2 separate regions of the Homo sapiens genome follow, and region 1 is linked to region 2. The links are contacts of gene promoters, found by promoter capture Hi-C in human tissues and cell types (Jung and others, 2019). All regions are on one chromosome and are shown on one strand. Each heading gives the region's core, a stretch centred on a gene start or on the middle of the fragment in contact. The rest is flanking DNA. Distances are from core to core; before and after follow the strand shown. Region 1 holds the start of ATG9B (autophagy related 9B). Region 2 holds the start of ZNF862 (zinc finger protein 862).

Region 1 (5,366 bases), core at 77-2,576, 1.2 Mb after region 2:
AGGAGGAAGGTTGTGAAGGTGACAATGAAAATAAATTGTCTGCCGGGAGGAAGGGGGGGTGCCGGGATGCTGCAGTGATCAGGGACAGCCAGGTGGGCTCCTGCCCCAGCCCCCAGAGCAGCCCATGGTTATCCTCCCTGACCCTGCCCCTGCTGAGCCCTTGGGCTGCTCGGGAAAGCATGGGATGGAAGCAGCTGGCACAATTAAGGAAGCAAAATGACAGAAGGAAGCCATGGGCCCAGGGGACCGAGTTCCGGGCCCGGGCTAAGCGTCTCACCCCAGCTGGAAGACATCCTCCAGCAAGATGCAGGCAAAGCCATTCCGCTGGTGGTAGCTGTAGATGTGGCTGCGTGTCAAGGAACAAGCCTGAGGCACGGGGGGCCTCTCCTGAGGACACCTCCCCTCAGCCCCAACAAGTCTCCCACCCATGACGCCCTCACGGAGTCTCCCTGCCAAGAACAGTGCCAGCTCCAAGAGGACCTTCCCATGCCACCTCTGCAGGCCTAGCGCAAAGGATATCTTGGTGAAGAAACTGTCCAGGTTCTGGATGTGATGCCAGGAGCCTGGGCACAGAGGGGAGAGTGTCAGCCCCTGGCATGTGATCAATTCTCCACGTTCTCAACCCGCTGCCAGAGGCCCAGCCTGGGATAAGTACTGGAGCTCCCAGGCACCACTAACCCTCTCCCACCCACACCCACACACATACCTCGGAGCCCTTCAGGGACATGAAGCAGGGGTTGCTGCTCCTCCCCGTGGATGGGTGAGTCTTGGGACCCCTCAGGGTCACAGTCCTCCAGCCGCTCATAATCCTGTTCAGGGATCAAAGGGCCTACCCGCAGCCCAGGAGAGTCCTGGGGGCACTGCTGTGAGGGAGTGGGGGTTGCCGGGGCCAGGGGTGGGGTGGAGTGGGATCCCCAGGAGGGAGATGCAGAGGCAGGTGTCATTGCAGGTTGAGCCTGTGTTGGGGGGGTGGCTGGGATAGGGAGAGCACTGTGGCAAGACTGAGAAGCCCCTGTCCCCTGTAGCACTGAGCAAGGGGGCCCTGCGGTGGGAGGGGAAAATGAGGAGGGGGAGCTTCTTGTATGAGGGGCAGGGGACAGAGAGAAGATGGAGATCCTCCCTCCCCCAGGTCCCCGGCATGAAGGAGGAGGAGGAGGTGGCAGTGGCATGGGGAGGAGGGGCACCGATCCGGGCCCCAGATCTCCCCACCGCCCCAGCCGCCTTCTTCTCCCCCCCCAGCCCATTCGGCTCACCATCAGGCCACGGCTTCTCCAGAAAGGTTGGAAGGATGGGAGCTGTTGTTGCTTCCACAAAGGTCTGTGACACTGAGCTGGGACTTCAACAGGAACAATGACAACAACATTACTAGGTGACTCAGCCTAGGCAGGCCTCAGGCGTCCCAGCTCTCAGTCACCTGTCTGATCACTCACACCCCTTCCAGGGCAACCTGAGGCCAAATCCCTCAGGGCCTGAGAGGGGCATCAGTTTAAGAGGAGGGGCCAAAGAGCACATTGAGATGAGAAGATTCCTATTATCTCCATCTTCAGACCTTGAATGAATGAAAGATAAAAAGAACAGCAGCCAAAATGACAAAAGCAAAAAGCAAAATCGTGTTAGAGCCAGGTGTGGTGATGTGTGCTTGTGTTCCTAGCTACTCAAGAGACTGAGGTGGGAGGATGGCTTGGTGCAGGTTACACTGGAACAGTATAGGTTACAGTGAGCTAGATCCTGCCCCCTGCCACCCCCCCCAAAAACATCCTATTAAAGGATTGTAGCAGGGCGCAGTACCTCACACTTGTAATCAATCTCAGCACTTTGGGAAGCCGAGGAAAGAGGATTGCTTGAGGCCAGGAGTTCAAGACCAGCCTGGGGAACAGAATGAGAAGACTCCATCTCTACAACAAATCTTAGGACCAAGATGTTAACTATTTCATTTCTTAAGAGTGTACCTCCCCCACTTCCCTCCACACACACACTACAGTGATCAACAGAGAAATGTTTTGTGACCAAAACAGAAAAGAAGAAGTAAAGGGGCCAGGCATGTTGGCTTACACCCGTAATCCCAGGACTTTGGGAGGCCCGGGCGAGAGGATCACTTGAGGCCAGGAGTTCGAGACCAGCCTGAGCAACTTAGGGAAACACCATCTCTACAAAATCTAAAAAACAAACAAAATAATTTTTTTTCTTTTTGAGGCAGTCTCACTCTGTCACCCAGACTGGAGTATAGTGGCACAATCTCGGCTCACTGCAACCTCCGCCTCCCAAGTTCAAGTGATTCTTCTGCTTCAGCCTCCTGAGTAGCTGAGACTACAGGTGTGTGCCACCACACCCAGCTAATTTTTTGTATTTTTAGTAGAGATGGGGTTTCACCATGTTGGCCAGGCTGGTCTTGAACTCCTGACCTCGTGATCCACCCGCCTTGGCCTCCCAAAGTGCTGGCATTACAGGCGTGAGCCACTGCGCCTGGTCAAAAATAAATTTTTTAAAAAGAATAAGAAAAGGTTGCATGTTTTATTGGTCTGAGGTGCTAAGGAAGAGAAGAGGGGAGGCTGACTTTGCAGCCAAGTTGGGGAAAACTAAGAAGAGGAGGTGAAGAAAGGAAAGGCAGCTATCTTGGATTTGAGAGTTGGTTTGGAGAACTTAGAGTAGAAAATTGGGGTTCTCTGAAAGTTCCATTCCGTTTGCATCCTTATCATTTTCAACTGTGACATTCTCTCAAGTCCGGATCCCACTTCTGGGACCCCCTGAAAAGCATCAGGGCTGAATCAGAAGGGAGGACAGCTGTGAGTCTGGGACTTGGAAGGATAATTTGGATACCCAGGGAGGAGCTGAACTGAGTTCCTTGTTGTCACCTCAACAAGGAGGAGGAGACCCAGGCAGCTGGTCTGGTGGCTTGCCCAACGCCATTCTTGAGGCCCTGAATCACCAGGTTTCCTTCTAAAGCCCATTACTGAGATACTGACTCAGCCACCAGGTGTCAAGGTCTCTAGGGCTTAGGCCTAAGGGCTGATGTTGGGGCCAGTACCCCTGAAATGGCGATATGGACACTGTGCTTCCCAGATTGTTCACTGGAGGCAATCATGGAATCACCCACAAAACTTGAATCCAGATGTGCCTGATTTTCTCCTTCTGTGTGGGGTATTGTAGTAGTAGCTCAGGTCTTGCATGCCTTTATCTCAGAGTAGGAGGCAGAGCTATGAAAACAAGACCCTGTCCTTCTAGAGGTAGCAAAATGGAATCCCACATTGCAGAGGGGCCAGGAAATTCCCATAATCTTTCTGAGACATCTGTCAAGATGGGTTATGTGGGGTGTTGTCTAGTCTCTCCCCCACCTCACTCGCCCAATGTCACTCAGTATCGTGGCTATTCCACCATAGTCACAATAGGACCCCCCCATACACCAAGAGCTCCCCAGCTCAACCCCAAACTAATCCTGGGACATTGTCCTACCTAGTTTCACCCTGAATTCATTCTCATTGACAGCCTCCCTACCACCACTCCCAATTCAAGTCGATTTATTTTAAAGGGCACTTTTCCTTGCCAAGCATTTGGAAGGGAAGAGGACAGATGAATAAAACAGAGCCACTACCCAAGAAGCTGCAGCCCAGTGGGGAGACAAATACGCAAACAAGTAATTACAGGGAAGAAACGAGTGGTGCAAACTCTTTGGCAGGAGCCTGAGGCAAGTCATTCTGACCCGGGTGAGGAAGGTATCTGCGAGGCAGACAGATCTGAGGCCGCGCCTTGATAAATTACAGGCCCTCCATACCAATAGTTCTCAATGGCTGAGGCGTAGGGCAAGAGTGTCAGAATCACCGGGGGAGTTCTTCCCCAAGTACACGTGACTGTGGGGAAAAGAAAGAGAGATCAGATTGTTCCTGTGTCTGTGTAGAAAGAAGTAGACATAGGAGACTCCATTTTGTTCTGTACTAAGAAAAATTCTTCTGCCTTGAGATGCTGTTGATCTGTAACCCTACCCCCAACCCTGTGCTCCCTGAAACATGTGCTGTGTCAACTCAGGGTTAAATGGATTAAGGGCTGTGCACGGTGTGCTTTGTTAAACAAATTCTTGAAGGCAGCATGCTTCTTAAGAGTCATCACCACTCCCTAATCTCAAACCACTCCCTAATCTCAAGTACCCAGACACAAAACACTGAGGAAGGCTGCAGGGACCTCTGCCTAGGAAAGCTAGGTATTGTCCAAGGTTTCTCCCCATGTGATGAAATATGGCCTCGTGGGAAGGGAAAGACCTGACCGTCCCCCAGCCCGACACCCATAAAGGGTCTGTACTGAGGAGGATTAGTAAAAGAGGAAGGAATGCCTCTTTGCAGTTGAGATAAAAGAAAGGCTTCTGTCTCCTGCTCGTCCCTGGGCAATGGAAATGTCTCGGTGTAAAGCCTATCTCTACTGAGATAGGGGAAAACCGCCTTAGGGCTGGAGGTGGGACAGGCTGGCAGCAATACTGCTTCTTAAGGCATTGTGATGTTTATGTGTATGCACATCAAAAGCACAGCATTTTTTTTTTTACCTTGTTTACGATGCAGAGACGTTTGTTCACGTGTTTACCTTCTGACCTTCTCTCCACTATTATCCTATTATCCTGCCATACCCGATAATGATCAATAAATACTAAGGGAACTCAGAGGCTGGTGCCGGCGTGGATCTTCCGTAAACTGAACTCCGGTCTCCTGGGCCCATTTTTCTTTCTCTATACTTTGTCTCTCTGTCTCTTTCTTTTCCAAGTCTCTCCTTCCACCTAATGAGAAACGCCCACAGGTGTGGAGGGGCAACCCACCCCTTCACGTGACAGATGTCCCAGCAGTTCTGACGCACCTAGGAGAGCGGGGTGGGTGGCAGGGCATATGTACGTGTTTTGAAAAAACTCCCAGTCGATTTTTGTTCATTCCTCCCCCAAAACCCGCGTTCTACACGCCCTTGAGACGACGGGACATCTAGAGATCCTGGAGCCTTGGGAAAATGGCCCGAGGTCGGCGGCTGACGCGTTACTATGGATACTCCATAGCTTGGAGGGCCAGTCGGGCCACACCCTTTGGACGTCACCCGGAGCCCACAGGAGCACCTGGCAAAAGCCAGGCCCACTTCCTGCTCGGCTCCGCCCAGAGCAGGGGGCGGGCGGATAGGCGATTCCCTCCAATCACAGTTCCAAAAGGAGGGGGCTGACAACATATCCTCCAATCACAGCTTGAAGTGAGATTGATGTGTCTTTTCACCAATCACCGCCAAGGCGCGAGGGGGTTGTCGGGATGGGGGCGGGAGCCAACATAGAGCCCTCAGTGGGATGAGGGTGAAACTGCTATTGCCGGCGGCTCCTGTTTTACCGCGTCAGCATGCTGGTGCATTTATTT
Region 2 (5,379 bases), core at 1,078-3,577:
CAAGATGACTTGGTATACCTTCTATTCCCCACTTCATTTTCATGAGATGATCTTGTCTCAAAGAGACATCATCGGATGGAAATTCCCTCAGTAAATCTACAAACAAATGTACATCTACTCCATCTTCTTCTTCCCTCCTGGCATAACCAAAAGTGTTGCTATCCCGGCCAGACGCGGTGGTTCAGGCTTGTAATCCCAGCACTTTGGGAGGCCAATGCAGGTGAATCACTTGAGGTCAGGAGTTCGAGACCAGCCTGGCCAACATGGTGAAATCCTGTCTCTACTAAAAATACAAAAATTAGCAGGGTGTGATGGTGCACGCCTGTAGTCCCAGCTACTCAGGAGGCTGACACAGGGGAATTGTTTGAACCTGGGAGGTGGAGGTTGCAGTGAGCCAAGATTGAGCCACTGCACTCCAGCCTGGGTGACAGAGAGAGACTCCATCTCAAAAAAAAAAAAAAAAAAAAAAGTGTTCCTATCCCTAGGAAGGGCCCTCGATACCCTGTTCCTAGACCCTCCTGATTTCTCAAGGACTTGGTTCCTTGCACTATCCCCCTTTGAATCATCAGTTTCCTTCCCATCAACACAGAAACAAGATCTTGTGACTCATATCTTAGTCCTACTGCTTTGATTCCCCATTTCCCCCTAGATACTGCTCCATTTTTCTTGGAAAGATGGAAAACCTTTTATGGAAAAATGTGTCAAAAGAATGATTTACCCTAGCTGTCCTCCAGTTTTTTAACCCCTAAAAGAGAATCTGTTATAAAGACATGGATAACTCATGGGCAGAAATATAGCTCTTCAAGGTAGTGATATAGTCGAGGTGGTGAGTGGCAGGCCACTTGGAATCCACAGAGTCCTCACTCTCTGCCTTCTCCTCCACATTTCTTGTGTCTCATTCTTTTTTTCAGTAATGCAGACTCCCCTACACTCCTCGAACGGAATTTAGGTCTATTCAACCTTGGCCAGAAGAGCAGAGCTGGATAATGGAAAACGCTTACTTGAAGCCTGTGTAACATGGTGAAACCCTGTCTCTACTAAAAATACAAAAAAATTAGTTGACCATTGTCTTAATCTCTATGTGCTTCTGTAACAAAATCCCTGGAACTAGGTAATTTATAAATTATGGATACTTATTTCTTATGATTCTGGAGGCTGGGAAATCCAAGATCAAAGCACCAGCAGTGTCTGTGTCTGGTGAGAGCCTGGTCTCTGCTTCCAGGAGGGCACCTTTTTGCTCTGTCCTCACATGGCAGAAGGCAGAGGGGCAGAAGGGCAAAGGGCCTAGCTAGTTCCCCCAGCACGCATGTGGTCACTAACACCTTCATGAAGGCACATCCCTGCCCTGGCCCCCTAAAAGTCTTTTTTTTTTTTGAGACATGGTCTTGCTCTGTCACCCAGGCTGGAGTGCAGAAGCGCCATCCCGGCTTACTGCAGCCTCGACCACCCAGGCTCAAGTGATCCTTCCACCTCACAAAATTATTTTATTTTTATAGAGATGGGATCTCTCACTGTGTTGCACAGGCTGGTCTCAAACTACTGGGCTCAAGTGATCCTCCTGTCTCAGCCTCCCAAAGAGTTGGGATTAGAGGTGTGAGCCACCGCACTTGGACAAAACTTCTTATAAGGACACTAATCCCACCATAAGGGCCTGACCCTCACGACTTCATCTAAACCTCCCAAACGCCCCATCTCCTGGGAGGGGAACACCGGTCAGTCCATTGCACCTCCTTTACCTGGCAGACCCTACCTCTTGCTTTAATTCTGCTGAGGCATCACTTCCGCAGGAAATCCTTGACTAAGCACCTCATATCCCCCACCGCTTCACTCTAAGGTGACAACGCGGGCTTTAATTCATGTTTTGTGCTTACCTCTTTCATAGCCCTTGTCTCTGTTTTGTAATTATCTGTTTCTGGTCTGATTCCCTAATAGATCGTGAGTTCCTTGAAGGCAAGGCCTTTGTCTCATTCAACTGTGTTCTCCCAAACCCTAGAACACGGCCTGACCCATGGTAGGCAACCAATGATACTTTTTGAGTGAATAGAACAAAAAGTATTGCCCTCCTTAATAAAAGAAAACCTAGAACTTCAAGGCTGACATTGGCCTTCGCGTAGCCCAATCAGAGCGCTTTGCCCTTGCTGCAGAGGACTAAAGGACGCCACGCCGCCGTTGCCTAGTAACTGTCGCCGGAGGGAGGCGGGGAGGGTCGCAAGCGCGCCGCCGGCGTCCAATCAGGACCTGCGTTCCGGGAGCCAATAGCAGCTTCGAGAGCCGCTCACCTAGAGCGGACTACACTTCCCGTCACGCCCCGCCGCCTGGGGCTGGGCAGTGACCGTAAAGCTGTTCGCTCGGTGCGACGCAAGTCTCAGCTCAGCGCGCTTATCCTGGGTCCACCGGCGCTACCGCCCCCCGACGTGAGAGAGCGAAGTTCTTGGGCCGCGCTCCCTCCCTACCTGGGTGCCCTCCCCCTCCGGGAGCCTGGGTCCCCGGGGCGGTCGCGGCGGCTGCATCCTCAGGCCAGGCCGCGGGGGGAGGGGGCGGCACGGGCCTCCGAAAGCGGGGCCATGGAGCCCAGAGAGTCGGGGAAGGTAGGACTGGAAGGCCCGGGGGCCGCCCGCTCCCTCCCGAGGATCCCCGAGCCGGGCTCGGGCGAGGCGGGGCGGCTCGGGCGGAGGCCCCGCAGATGAGCCAGGCTTGCAGGGAAGGACTCGCCGGCCCGCCCTCTCTTCCCGCACTTCGGCGCCCGACCCCGGGAGGGTGGCGGAGAGGAGCGGACGCTTCCGTTCGGTGTCCGCGCATCCTCCCCGAGCTGCCGAGCGTCCGCTGGGTCGATGCTGGGTTGGGTGACCCCCGAGTGGAGCGATGCGAAGGTGCTTCCTGTTTTCCCCACCACCTTCGGCGTTTTGAAGAGGCCCTGCTAAGGCTTGGAGTCTGGATCGGACGCCAGTGGGAGCTGCAGGGTGGGACGCTTGAGGGCTTGACCCTGCCTAGATCCTCCTTACCAAGAAAGGGCTGAAAAGAGAGGGCATCTGGCATGCTTTTTGCCACTTCTGTTTCTAGGTTATGTACTTCATGGAATATCTGGGCATTGCTTAGAAACCTGTGTCATAAATTGGCTTTGGGCAAGAGGCTTTGAGTTGGAAGAAAAGGTGGAAAGAAAGTGCTTGGGGGCGGAGTTCAGGGATTTGACGGGATTGCCAGCGCTTCCAGGCCGTGTCATCCAAGACCAGTGTGGTTGTGGGCACATTAGCTTGGAGACAGTGGCAGCCTCTTGGGACTAACATCTTTCTGGATGTTGTTTGCTGCCAGTTCTTGAGTATTGTTTCTTATTTGGCACAGAGGAGAATTCTCTCAACAAACGTTTTCGACTGTTTATTGAGTCCCTTAAAAAACTGTCCATTTAATAAACATTTGTGATCTGTGATTTGCATTGAACGAGATGCTGGAAGTATGAGGATAAATAGGAAATGATCACCTTTCTCAAGGAGCTCTCCTGCAGTTTTCACTTCAATAACTTGGACACGCCTGAAAGGGTTGTCCCACACGAAAAGAGAGAAAAGGATAATGAGGTTCTTTTGATGCTGTAGTTTTTCCTGGGAAGACTAGGAAGGACTCTGAATTTCAAAAGAGGTGATTTCTCGCATGAGCATCTCTTCCATCCTCCCTCCCTCCACAAGCTACAGTGATGCATGTAGCAGACACGGCACCTACAGAGTACGTGGTCCAAGCCAATAAAGCTCAACAAAACCCAAGCAAAGATGGAGCTTATGGCCCTTACCCTTTGGAAATATCCCCAGATTGGTTTAGATTGAACCTGAATTTGAATAAAGAGAAGCAAAATGTAGGGGGAAGAAGGATTATAAAATATTGGGATTGATATTGGTATCAGTGATTTGAAGTTGATTTCCAAGCTATTCTGTTCAGTCAGAGGCTTTCTTAGCCTTTAACGGGAGAAGAGAAATACGGTCATGCGCTGTATAACAAGGTTTCCATCAACACCGCTCTCACGTACAATCCCCTGAGACTACAGTGGGGCTGAGAAATTCCTATCACCTGGTGACATCTTCATGATCCTGACCCTGTGTAGGCTTAGGCTAATGTGTGTGTTTGTGTCTTAGGTTTTAAGAAAGCTTAAAAAGTAAAAAAAAAAAAAAAAAAAAAAAAAAAAAAAATTTAAAAATACAAAACCTCATAGAATTAGAATATAAAGAAAAATACTTTTTGTTGATGGAATGGTTTGCTGGAAAATAAAAATACAAAAATATTTAAAGAAAAATATTGTACAGGTGTACAATGTGTGTTAAGCTAAGTGTTATTACAAAAGAGTCAAAAGTTTAAAAAATTAAGTTTATAAAGTAAAACAGTTACAATAAGCTAGGGTTAATTTATTATTGAAGAAAGAAAAATTTTTGATAAATTCGGCGTAGCCTTAGTGTGCAGTGTTTATAAAGTCTACAGAAGTGTTCAGTCATGTCCTAGGCCTTCACATTCTCTCACCACTCACTCACTCACTCACTCACTCACCCAGAGCAACTTCCAGTCCTGCAAGCTCCATTCATGGTAAGTGCCCAATACAGATGGACCTTTTTTTTTTTTTTGTCTTTTCTACCATATTCTTACTGTACCTTTTCTATGTTTAGATACGCAAATACTTACCATGTGTTACAGTGGCCTACAGTTTTCAGTACAGTAACATACTGTGTAGGATTGTAGCCTAGGGGGCAAAAGGCTATATACCATATAGCCTAGATATGTAGTAGGCTGTACCATGTAGTTTTGTATAAGTACACTCTGTGATGTTCCACAATGACAGAACTGCCTAAGGACACATTTCCTAGAACTTATCCCTGTTGTTAAGCAACACATGACTGTACAAACATTTTGGGAGGTAGAGGAGAAACCTGATTCCGTGTCCTGTCCAACCACTAAGTGAAACCTCAGAGACTGGAAATTTCACCCTTGATTATAATCTTGATTTTAGGGTATCTCAGAAAGGTGCTCACCCTTCCCAAAGATAGTTGTTTTCTAATATGGGAAATGAGAACTTCATACAAGAATGAAATAAAGTAATTACAAAACCAACTGTCAGTGTAAGATGTGTTGCAAATGAGTGACAAGGAATAGCGGTGCTGTTCTACAACTCCACTCCGAACAGCATTCTTATGGCTCAGAACTGGGAGACTACCTCGTGAGATAGTGGTTTGGTCTATTACTAGACTCTTCCTTGGGTGCTGTTTTGTGGTCTTTATTAACTGACAGCCATCTTGGGCCATTGGATTGATATCCCACATTGAATGTAGGACATCTTGCCTGTCATTGACAGAATAATGGATAAGGGTCAGACTTTTCCCCATCATGTTCTATCCCATGATCCTGTTT

The links. The method cuts DNA at HindIII sites, captures the fragments that hold promoters and counts their contacts. A contact is called where the count stands out against the background at its distance.
Region 1: the fragment with the promoter of ATG9B here is called in contact with the fragment with the promoter of ZNF862 in region 2 in 1 of the 25 tissues and cell types used here (dorsolateral prefrontal cortex).

What each region holds. Positions count from the first base shown.
Region 1 is chr7:151,023,168-151,028,533 of GRCh38, forward strand. It overlaps ATG9B (autophagy related 9B), which reads right to left and starts at 1,327. Exons shown (of 14, transcript NM_001317056.2): 1 at 707-1,327; 2 at 520-563; 3 at 278-342; 4 at 1-39. The coding sequence starts at 1,256. It overlaps LOC124901777 (a long non-coding RNA gene), which reads right to left and starts at 5,091. Exons shown (of 3, transcript XR_007060593.1): 1 at 4,796-5,091; 2 at 3,640-3,845; 3 at 1,828-1,866. ABCB8 (ATP binding cassette subfamily B member 8) reads left to right here and starts at 5,283. Exons shown (of 16, transcript NM_007188.5): 1 at 5,283-5,366. The coding sequence starts at 5,349. RefSeq lists enhancers at 2,238-2,842, 3,448-4,051, 4,052-4,656, 5,262-5,366, 5,306-5,366. The HindIII fragment of the contact is 10,457 bases long and covers 1-5,366 here.
Region 2 is chr7:149,836,048-149,841,426 of GRCh38, forward strand. It overlaps ZNF862 (zinc finger protein 862), which reads left to right and starts at 2,328. Exons shown (of 8, transcript NM_001099220.3): 1 at 2,328-2,588. The coding sequence starts at 2,565. RefSeq lists a silencer at 2,404-2,863. The HindIII fragment of the contact is 30,621 bases long and covers 1-5,379 here.